Regions from separate parts of the Homo sapiens genome. Here region 2 is linked to region 1. The links are contacts of gene promoters, found by promoter capture Hi-C in blood cells and fetal thymus (Javierre and others, 2016). All regions are on one chromosome and are shown on one strand. Each heading gives the region's core, a stretch centred on a gene start or on the middle of the fragment in contact. The rest is flanking DNA. Distances are from core to core; before and after follow the strand shown. Region 1 holds the start of HSPH1 (heat shock protein family H (Hsp110) member 1). Region 2 has its middle 4.2 kb from the start of SUGT1-DT.

Region 1 (5,826 bases), core at 640-3,139:
CCACAATTATAGTTTAACAAACATATTAAGGGGAACTCCAATACTGCCCTCAGTTCACATTTTTCAGGGCCATACCTGTTGTCTTTGATTTCACACAGTAGTCCCTGTATAACACAATTTTTTTTCCCACTCTCTTCTCTGAAAAGCTTTTCTTTGTTTTATTGGATCAACCAGAACAAAGTATAAACTGTATCTAGGCATGAAAGCCTGAAATACTGTTTTCTTTCTTACTAAACTCCAATTAAAAAAACCTTAACCAAAACACAAACTTAGATCTGCAGGGGTAGACGTACAGGTTGCTCAGAACAGTCTTCCTAACGTTACTAACATTGCCAAATATTTTGCCTCAGATTTTCCACTCAACTTTCATAAACGTTCTCAGCACCCAAATAATTGTATTACCCCAGTCATTCATTCTACCTTTAGGTTCAATGTTTTCATTTTGCACTTTTCATCCTGAGCTTGGGACATTTGAAAAAAATTAATAGGTACAGTATTTTCCTTGAGATGAAATCATTTGTTTTCATCAATGCACATGCAGATATGTTTGTATATATTCTCGTCCGAAAATATCCCTTCACGAAACTTGCTTTTTAAAATGTTGCCCTTTGCCCACCCTATGCTCCTATAGAATATTTAGTTCAGTGACGACATCCATCCTCTTTTGGCGTCCTAGCACAAAAGTATGCAATTTTTATTCTCTTTTAAATAAACTGTGCAAAATTAATTTTAAAAATACGGTTTACAATTCCTCATGAATGGCAAAGAGCAAAAAAAAAGACGTTTACATCTTTCGACAATGATCCCGGGCATTAAGGCCAACAATGTTAGCAACGAAGAGACTGGGTAAAAAGAGGTGGGCTAATCTTTCATAGGACTGCTTCCGTGGTCGCTAACAACAATCCGCCTGCTCACTGGACAAGCAGCGACACAAGCTCTGGAAGCTTCCAGTTCATTTCGAGATTCACAATGCGGAAGAAAAAGGCCGGCAGCCCCGCTCCGCGGTGCGCAAAGATATGCGCGAAGGGAGGAGGACAAGCTGGAGGCGGCTCAGCCAGCTCAGAGAGGCCGGGTGGGGATACGGGGGCGGCCGCGGAAGGCGCAGGCTGCAGCCTGCCAAGAAAAGGGAGCGAAGTTGCGGGCTTTGCCGCAGCCCGACCCCCAGTAGGTTTTGAAAACCCCCAATAGGAAGCCCGCACAAGGTGACGACCCTTAGAGTCTCGACTCTGGGACTCCTCTCACCCCCGTGAATCCCTGAGACAATCCCTTCTCCAATTTGTGATGGCAAGCCCCCCATCCCTCCTCTGGCCGGGTCGCTGGTCCCTAGTTCCACGGAGGGGTGCGCCGCTGCCCAAACGCCTCCGTTTGCCGCGGTGATCCGTACAGCCAGCCCGCGATCTTGGGTCCCCACACTAAGGGCCCAGAACCTCCTCCCATCCACCCTCGCAGACTCCCACTTACGGGGTGCACCGGTCGCTGAACTCATTGGCGATGGTCTCGATGCCCCCGGCCCGGGCTACCGCGATGTAGCAGCTCTGCGAGCCCACGTCCAACCCCACCACCGACATGGCCGGCTCGCGGTCCGCCTCCGCCTCGGGTCTCGGTCTGCGTCCTCCGGCCCCCTGCCTGCTTCTCCTGCCGCCGCTTTCTGCCCTGGCCGCGTTCTGCTCCGGCCCGCGGGGTCTGGCCGTTCCTCTGACACTCAGAAGGACACACAGACAGCCGCGGCCTGTCAGGAGCCTCCTACTCCCCCGGGGACAGCGGCGGCTGGCTGATAAGAAACCCTGGGAGAAAGCGGGGCTCAGCCTCCGCAGGTCGCTCCGCACCTCGGGTTGCCTGCCTCACTCTGCCGCGGCTCGCACACCGGCGCCGGCGCTGAACTACCGACCCAAAAGGGGAGGTCCCACTTCCTCAGCCTTATGTATCGCACTGATCAGAACTTTCCAGAATCTGCGGCATTTACTCACCGGCGCCTCCACCGGCCCCTCCACGTGCCACTTCCGCTTCCTTCTTCTCGAGCCTTCTGGAAAGATTCTACCCAATGGGCAGCCGGTCCCCGGAGAACGGCCGCCGTTGCCATGGCAGCGACAGGGCCGCTCCCGTGCCATTGGCTCAAACCTGCCTCCGCCCACTCCCGCCCTAGCCACAGGCGTTTTGCTGCCCTAATAAAACAGGCAACGAAGAATGACTCCAAAACTCGGAATAGTCACAATTTACTACCGGGAGGTGGTGTCCGATCCTTAACGCTAAAGGGAGGCTGGGCGGGCGGAGACAGACCCCATTTTTGCAGAGACCCCAGACACCGGGATGGTGGGGAGGCCGGCCAGCTGTCCGGAGAGCATGTTGGGAATCGTAGTCCCGCTGGGAGAAGTGTGCGCCTTGCATGCTGGGATGTGTAGTCCTGGCCGCAGTGCTTGCTGGGACCCGGCTTTGTCTTCTGGGACTCGCGAGAGAGGCTGGGTAGGGTTTTGTCTGGCGCTTTTGCGCGGGTTCCCTGGCAATAAGCGTCATTTTGTTCGTTTGTTTTGTATTCACTTCTATTATTGTCTGGATTACCCCGACAACTGGTGCGTTACGACTTAGGAGAAGGAACACCAGTTCAAACCGCTTATAATAAAAGCAAAGGGGTTGTGTTAAGTGTTCTTGTATTCATCAGGCAGCAGGATGATCTCTTGTGGAGTAAAATGTCAGGTGTTTTTTTTTTTAAGAAATCGATTTTTAGTTGTGACGTCATTTGGCAGGCTGTCCACGGTATCACTTTCTGCTTATTTTTAAAAGGTCTGATTTAAGCCGACGCTGTTCTACCCTGCCACTCCTAGCCATAAATTGGTACTGTGTGTAAGTTTTGCTTTTTGTTTGATCTGAAGCAGCTTTTGTTTCTTTCCCTCAGAAGCGATGTCCCCGTTAACTTTTGTTCAGTAAAGAGACAGTGTAAGAAAAGGTGGAACTGTGTTGCTGATAACTTATCAGGTCTTTTATACCCTTTTGTGTCTTTTTAAGTTTGCTTCTGATCCCTGAGTTTACCTTATGTCAGGCATGTGGAAGTATAAGCACAGTTCAAATATGTTATTGGATAAGCGTGTAATTGAATAAGGAGTTGTAACCTAAAGTTAGAAAAATCTAACTCATAAAGAGTATGGGAATTCCTCCTTGTCTATCAAAACAAGTTGGTTAAGTCAGAGGCAAGACGAAAGGCCCAGGTTTACATTACATGTAAATTGTATGTGCTTTTGCTAGTTTTCCTGCCACTTAGGTGGCTTACTTAACATGCTTCAGTTAACTCACCTTTAAAATGGGAGCAATAATAGTTATCACGGGGTTGTTGTGTTCTTACATTTGGACATATAGTTAGCTGTAACTATAAGTTATTTTTGTTATGCATCCCAAAAACTTGGTTTCTGTCCCCACCCCCCGCCCACCAACTTTTTCTTACATATCAAAACCTTATAATAAAATCCATGGAGACATAGCAATTTTGAACAGAAAGAACCTTTGAGATTATTTGGTCTGCTTCCCACATTTTAACTGCCGTACGAAGAGGAGACATGAACAGTTCTCAGTCTTTGGAGCCAGACAGATTTGGGTCAGGTTCAAATCCTTGGCACTCTACTAAGATGTTTTATATAAAGTACAGCTTGTAAGGGCACCAGGCCTCCTGGAGTCAGACATCATGGGCTTGAATCCTAGCTATTCTTATTTGTGAGCTGTGTGATGTTGCGATAATTACTAAGCCTTTCTGTATTCCATCTCATGGTGTTTATGTAATGATGGAAACTATATGTAAAGCACTAAACATATATAAACATAAACATATAAAGTCTGTCATCTTTGTCAAATTCCTCTTTGCCCTCTGTTTCCTCGACTGTAAAATGGAAGTAATACCTATTTTTGCTAGGATTTTGGAAGGATTAGATATAAATAAAACATGGTATGGTGGTATTTGATAAATTGTAGTAATAGAAGTAATATCATTCAGTGAAAGTCAGTACAAACTTTAATCTTGTACTGCTGTGGATGTGTTGTGTAGTCATGGTGTAGCCCCCTTTTATTTAATCGATTTGCCTTAATTATTCAGCACAACAGGTAAGTGATAAGAGGTTGTAAAATCTACCATATTTATTATCTAATTGAAATTCTTAGCTGGGCCAGGCATGGCGGCTCACATCTGTAATCCCAGCACTTTGGGAGGCCAAGGCAGGAGGATCACCTGAGCCCAGGAGTTTGAGGCTGCAGTGAACTATGATCACTCCACTGCACTGCAGCCTGGGCAACAGAACAAGAGTCTGTCTCTAAAAATAAAAAAATAATTCCTAGCTAGGTGCAGTGGCTCATGCCTCTAGTACCAGCTACATGGGAGGCTGAGGCATGTGGGTTGCTTCAGCCCAGGAGTTGAAGTCCTGCCCAGGCAATATAGCAAGACTATTAAAAAAATTCACTTTTAACACTTTATTATATTTTATTACTTTATATGTTTATATATTTTATTACATGTAGAATTTATCACACTTACTGTTGTAATGTCAGAAATTTTAAAATGAGACTTGGACCAAATAATGACAATCCCTACAAATCCTTGTTATGTAATTATGAATCCAATTATTAGGTTTCATTCCATATTTGTTTTAGAGAATAAGAAGGACCTCAAAATTGGAAGCAGAAACAGACCACTTCCAAAGAACAATAAAACAAAAATGCAAAATTAAGAAAAGCCCAAACAAAAATGCCATTCAAAGAGATAATATGCAGTAGATATAAAAAACTATGCCAGGCTTCCTTGAAAGGAGGAAGAGATGGGCAAAGGAGGGGATATGCAGATAGAGTAATATACATGAAAGTGCATATGACTTTGAATTTCTGGTATCAACCAGTATGGCAGTCTTCTCTATAACCAGCATAATGCCAGGGTCTGGAGGGTTACAGAAGTAGTATAAAACTTGTTCTAAATCAAGATGTGTTTTGTCACTTCTCTGCAATGCTGGGGCATCATGAATACTCAATTATCTGAAATCTTGTCCGTTTGAACCTTTTTCAATATTTGCTTACCAAAAGATTTTTGTTTTCTTCTTATATATTAACCTGAAAATGTATCTTTTAAACCTTAATTGGTTCTGCTAAAACCTATTTTGTCCTTATTTTAAGTTATAATAGAATGATCATCTAAAAATAGGAATGCATGGGGAAATCACGCAGGGAGCAGAGACTTATAAAAAGGTACACCTAGAAATAAGGTAAGTATGTTTTGTCTGGTAGGACATGGAAAAGATATGTAAAATGATGTTTCTTTTAGCCTAAAAAGGATCATATTTTGTAATAAATGTGGCAGACAAAAACTCAATGTGTAGGAAAATGTTCATGTCTGCCCCCAAACTCACTGTGAGCCACTTTGCCACTGGAACACCGTGCTCAGGCACACTGGCCCCCTACCCCACATCAAGGTGTTCCTTTATTCCCCTGCCTAGAAAATTCTTCCTCAGGCTCCTGGCTAGGCCAGTTCCTCATCCTTCAAGGCTCTATTGAATTCTTCACCATCTGTAGAGAAGGTTTCTGAATGCCCACCCAGTAAGCACATTACCCTTCCCCAAAGTACACCCAGTTCTTGTCCAGTTAAGGAGAAGCTGGTGCCAGCCCGAATGCGGAGGGTGGTCACTGTTTGGCTTAGGCCAATCAGCACATCCTATTCCCCTTGGCCACAGTCGTTGGTTCCAGGATGGTCAGGTGACCTAGGCAGCCCAATCAGGGTGACTTTCAGGGCTATGGTTTAGAATGCCTGGGTATGAGGGTATTTCTCTGCCCCTTTCCATCCCTTTCCTTCCACTCCCTCCATCT
Region 2 (5,660 bases), core at 2,675-5,174, about 21 Mb after region 1:
GGTCTCGAGCTCCTGGGCTCAAGGGATGCTCCTGCTTTGGCATCCCAAAGTGATGGGATTACAAGTGTGAGCTACTGCGCCTGGCCTCCTTGTGCTCATGTTCTTATGTTGCTTACCACCATCCATATGCTGATGACTATCAATTCTTATCTATAGCTCTAAATGTGTTTTAAAAAAATAGCTTTAGGCCGGGCGCGGTGGCTCACGTCTGTAATCCCAGCACTTTGGGAGGCCAAGGCGGGCGGATCATGAGGTCAGGAGATCGAGACCATCCTGGTTAACAAGGTGAAACCCCATCTCTACTAAAAATACAAAAAATTAGCTGGGTGTGGTGGCGGGTGCCTATAGTCCCAGCTACTCAGGAGGCTGAGGCAGGAGAATGGTGTGAACCCGGGAGGCAGAGCTTACAGTGAGCCGAGATCACGCCATTGTACTCCAGCCTGGGCAACAGAGCAAGACTCCATCTCAAAAAATAAAATAAAATAAAATAGCTTTATAGGGCTATAGTTGACATAAAGCAAACCATGCACATTATTTAAAGTGTACAGTTTGAAGTGTTACATATGTATACACTCGTAAAATCATCACCATAATCAAGATAGTGAACATACCTATTACCCCAATGTTTCCTCATGCCCCTTTTATTCTTGAAATTCCACCCTGCTCTCCAGCCCCCACCCCCACCCAGTAAACCACTGATTGTCATACAGATGAGTTTTAAAATTTTTCAGGATTTTATATAAATGGAATCATACAAAATGTACTATTTTTGTCTGATTTTTTTCACTTAGCATAATTTTGAGATTCATCCATGTTATAGTGTGTAGCAATACTTCATTCCTTTTATTGCTGAGCAGTATTCCATTGTATGGCTATACTGGCTATACTGCTGTTGTTTTTTGTTTGTTTTGAGATGGAGTCTCGCTCTGTCGCTCAGGCTGGAGTGCAGTGGTGTGATCCTGGCTCACTGCAACCTCCACCTCCTGCATTCAAATGGTTCTCCTGCCTCAGCCTCCTGAGTAGCTGGGAATATAGGTGCGTGCCACATTTTTTTGTATTTTTAGACGAGACAGGGTTGGCCAGGCTAGTCTCAAACTCCTGATCTCAGGTGATCCACCCGCCTCCGCCTCCCAAAGTGTGGGATTACAGTCATGAGTCACTGCACCTGGCCAGCTGTACTACTGTTTATCCATTCACCTATTGATGTACATTTGGGTTGTTTCCAGTTTTCAACTGTTAACCATTAAAACTGCTATAAACAGACACAGACATTTTGTACAAACATTGCATGAACATGTTATTTCATATCTCTTGGGTGCTAATTGTGTAGCAGTGGTCTAAGTCATTTTATGGTTGTGCCTTTTTACATTCCTACCAGTGGTGTATGAGTCTTCCAGTTGCTCTACATCCTTGCCAACATGGTCAGTCTTTCTCCTTTTAGCCGTTTAAATGGGTGTGTAGTGGCATATGGTTGTGGTTTTAATTTCTATTTCCCTATTGACTTACAGTTTCTGAGTTTTGAGACATCTTCATATATTCTGGATGCAAGCTCTTCATCAGAGATGTGATTGCAAATATTTTCATAGTGTAGAATCTTTTAAATTTTGGTGAAGTCTAATTTACAAATTTCTTCTTTTATGGATCATGCTTTTGGTGTGCTAAGAAATCTTTGTCTAACCCAAGATCACAAAGATTTTCTTTCCTCTAGAAGTTTTATAGGAGTTGTAGCCCCATAATCCATTTTGAGTGAATTGTTGTACATGGTGCAAAGATACACACTGAAACTCACTTTTTGGCACATGTATATCCAGTCTGTTTTAAAGTCTCTCCTTTTCAACTGTTTTTTCTCCACTGAATTACCTTTGGACCTTTGTTAAAAATCAGCTGTCTACATATGGTATGGGTCTATTTATGGATTCTCTGTTCCATTAATCTGTCTATTTTTGTGCCAATACCACAAGGTTGACAGGTCTTGAGATGAAGTAATGTTATCTCTCCAACTTTGTTATTTTTCAAAGCTGATTTGGCTATTGTAAGTCCTTTGCATTTTCATTTGAATTTTTCCCCCATTTGAATTTTAGAATCAGTTTGTCAACTTCTAAAAGGGAAAAGCTCTGGGATTTTTTTTTTTTTTTTTTTTTTTTTTTTTTTTTTTTTTTTTTTTGAGACGGAGTCTTGCTCTGTCGCCCAGGCTGGAGTGCATTGGTGCAGTCTCGGCTCACTGCAAGCTCCTCCTCCCGGGTTCACGCCATTCTCCTGCCTCAGCCTCCCAAGTAGCAGGGACCACAGGTGCCTGCCATGACGCCTGGCTAATTTTCTTGTATTTTTAGTAGACACAGGGTTTGATTGTGTTAGCCAGGATGGTCTCGATCTCCTGACCTTGTGATCCGCCTGCCTCGGCCTCCCAAAGTGCTGGGATTACAGGCGTGAGCCACCGCGCCCAGCCAGCTCTGGGATTTTTAAATGTACTTTATTTCAGAGATGGGGTCTCTGTTGTCTAGGCTGGTCTCCAACTCCTTGCCTCTAAGCGATTCTCCTGCCTCAGCCCCAACAAGAACTGAGATTAGACATGAGCCACCATGCCTGACTAGGGATTTTGATTGGGATCATGTTGAGTCTATAGGTCAATCTTGGAAGAACTGAGATCTCAACAATATTGAGTCTTCTTGACTCATGAATTTGGAGTAGCTCTCCATTTGTTAGTTTTCTTTAATTTCTCTCGGCAATATTGTTGGGTTTTTTTTTTTTTTTGAGACAGAGTCTTGCTCTATTACCCAGGCTGGAGTGCAATGGCGCAATCTCGGCTAACTGCAACCTCCGCCTCCCGGGTTCAAGCAATTCTCCTGCCTCAGCCTCCCAAGTAGCTGGGATTACAAGCACCCGCCACCACGTCCAGCTAATTTGTTTTGTGTTTTTAATAGAGATGGGGTTTCGCCATATTGGCCAGCCTGGACCTCAGGTGATCCACCCGCCTGGGCCTCCCAAAGTGCCAGGATTACAGACGTGAGCCACCACGCCTGGCTGCAATATTTTTTAGTTTTCGGTGCACATCTTGCATATCTTTTGTCAGATTTATTTTTCAGTATTTAATATTTTGATGTTACTATACATGTCATGACTCTTTGCATTTAAAATTTTGATTGTTACTGATTTTGTTTTAAATCTTTTTTCTGTTGAAGTATAAACTTGGTAAAGTGTACAAATCTTTTAAAAATTTTCTCTCTTTTTTTTAAACTTCTCTTTGGGAAAGCTTTATTGTGAAAAAGACACAAATAAGAGATTTTGTTAGATTCAGTTTGAAATTATCAAGTGTAATACACTTAAGGATGGCTTCAATGTTAGACTGGGATGGTTTTCTCTTTTAAATGAAAAGGATCCCTTTCCTAGGAAAATGTTAGGTAACACAGTATAAGTGACTATTTTCACTCTTCAATTTGAAGATCAATTATCCTTCAATAAATGCCCACTTAATCCAGCATGGTTACTCCTCCCCTTCTTTAAATTACCAAAGCTAAGTACATTGGTATATTTAGTTGTGTCATTTGCACATGAAAACTTTTTTTTTTAACTTTTTTTTTTTTTTTGCAATAAGTCTCGCTCTTGTCCTCCAGGCTTGAGTGCAATGGCTCAATCTCGGCTCACTGCAACCTCTGCTTCCCGGATTCAAACGATTCTCCTGCCTCTGCCTCCCAAGTAGCTGGGATTAAGGTGCCTGCCACCATGCCCGGCTAATTTTTGTATTTTTTAGTAGAGATGAGGTTTCACCAAGTTGGCCAGGCTGGTCTCGAACTCCTGACCTCAGGTGATCTGCCCGCCTCGGCCTCCCAAAGCGCTGGGATTACAGGCGTGAGCCACTGTGCCCGGCTGAAAACATTTATTAATAACTTCTTAAGCATTTGTCTGTCCTTCCTCCCAAGATTTCAATAAACTGATGCCAAGAATTTATGGAGAAAATTATAAAAACTTTACTAAAAGACATACGAATAACTGAATGAAACAAGCAATTATGTTCATGGACTGGAAGAGGCAATACAAGGGAAATATATCATTTCTCCTCAAACGAATCTGCAAAATCAAAGTGAACAATTTGTTGTTGTTGTTGAGACTCACACTGTTACGTAGGCTGGAGTGCAGTAACACGATAAGAGTCTCAACCTCCTGGGCTCAAGCGATCCTCCTGCCTCAGCCTCCCAAGTAGCTGAGGCACGCGCCACCATGCTTGGCTAATGTTTTTTATTTATTTATTTTTTGTAGAGACGAGGTCTCACCATCTTGCCCAGGCTGGTCTTGAACTCCTGGGCTCAAGTGATTTTTCTGCCTTGGCTTCCCAAAGTGTTGGGATTACAGGCGTGAGCCACTGCACCCAGCCTGCACAAATCTTGTGCATAACTTGATAAAATTTTATGTTTGAATACACTGCTGTGATTACCAGCCAGATCAAGATATGTAACATTTCCCGCATCCGAGATTTCTTCATGCTCCTGTTCCCCACCCTCCCTGACAACCAGGAGGTTCCCTTATGATACCTCTCATCTAAGTGGAATCAATCATGATGTACTCCGTCTGGCTTTTTTTTTTTTTTACCACAACTTATGTATATAAGCTTCATCCATATCGTTGTGTGTAGTAGTCGTTCATTCCTATTGCTATGTAATATTTTTTTCTCCTATTTAAGGACATTTAGATTATTTCCAGTTTTTGCTACCTTGGGTAATGCTGCAATGAATATTCTTCTACATGATCATAAATAATAAATACTCTTGGGTATATGCCCAGTGGTAGAATTATTGGGTTATGGTCTGTGTATAACTAGCTTTAGTAGATAGTGTCTGATATAGTTTGGATATGTGTCCCCACCCAAATCACATGTCAAATTGCAATCCCCAATGTCGGAGGTGGGGCCTGGTGGGAGGTAACTGGATCATAGGGGTGGGTTTCTCATGAATGGTTAAGTACCACCTCTCTTGGTACTGTCCTTGCAACAGTGAATTCTTGTGAGATCTGGTTGTTTAAAAATGTGTAGCACCTACCCCCACCCTACTTGCTCCTGCCATGTAAGATGGCTGCTCTACCTTTGCCTTGTGCGGTGATTGGAAGCTTCCTGAGGCCTCTGCAAAAGTAGAAACTGCTATGCTTCTCGTACAGTCTGCAAAACCATGAGTGAATTAAACATTTTTTCTTTATAAATTACCTAGTCTCATTTATAGCAATGCAAGAACAGACATACGGTACCACAGTTTTCCAAAATGATTAAACTCTCACCAACAATATATGAAAGATACAGTTGCTACATATCCTTGTCAGTGCTTGGTATTGGAAGTCCTTTTAATTTAAGCCATTCTGGTGGTAGTTTTGGTATCTCATTGATTTCAATGTCCATAATATATAGAACTTCTTTTCATGTTGGGCCCATAGGGCGGTCTTGGAATTCACCCTTTCAGAGGCCATACATATATGTGTATTGGTGCATGGCAGAGGCTGGTGTACACACATTAGTGTATGGCTGAGCCATAACCGGAGCATACCTGAGACTAACCCTATGGTCTAAGAAGAACTTACGTTTGGAGTCCTGGGCTAAGGAATCCAGGAGCAGCCAACCCAGAGATTCACTCCTTATCTATGAAGGACATCCACATCCCTGGCCCGTATCTTACGCTGTA

What was found. Contacts are between HindIII fragments. The CHiCAGO score rates a contact against its expected background, and 5 or more counts as called.
Region 2: a contact is called between a fragment that was not itself captured here and the fragment with the promoter of HSPH1 in region 1, in 1 of 17 cell types (total CD8 T cells). The highest score is 5.0, in total CD8 T cells.

What each region holds. Positions count from the first base shown.
Region 1 is chr13:31,160,015-31,165,840 of GRCh38, forward strand. HSPH1 (heat shock protein family H (Hsp110) member 1) reads right to left here and starts at 1,890. Exons shown (of 18, transcript NM_006644.4): 1 at 1,462-1,890. The coding sequence starts at 1,568. LOC105370148 (a long non-coding RNA gene) reads left to right here and starts at 2,646. Exons shown (of 3, transcript XR_941825.3): 1 at 2,646-4,083; 2 at 5,140-5,228. RefSeq lists enhancers at 984-1,529, 1,530-2,075, 1,687-1,766, 1,897-2,016, 2,247-2,516. The HindIII fragment of the contact is 12,297 bases long and covers 943-5,826 here.
Region 2 is chr13:52,645,273-52,650,932 of GRCh38, forward strand. No RefSeq gene overlaps it. Among named protein-coding and RNA genes, the nearest start is that of SUGT1-DT, 4.2 kb to the right of the region's middle. The HindIII fragment of the contact is 1,353 bases long and covers 3,249-4,601 here.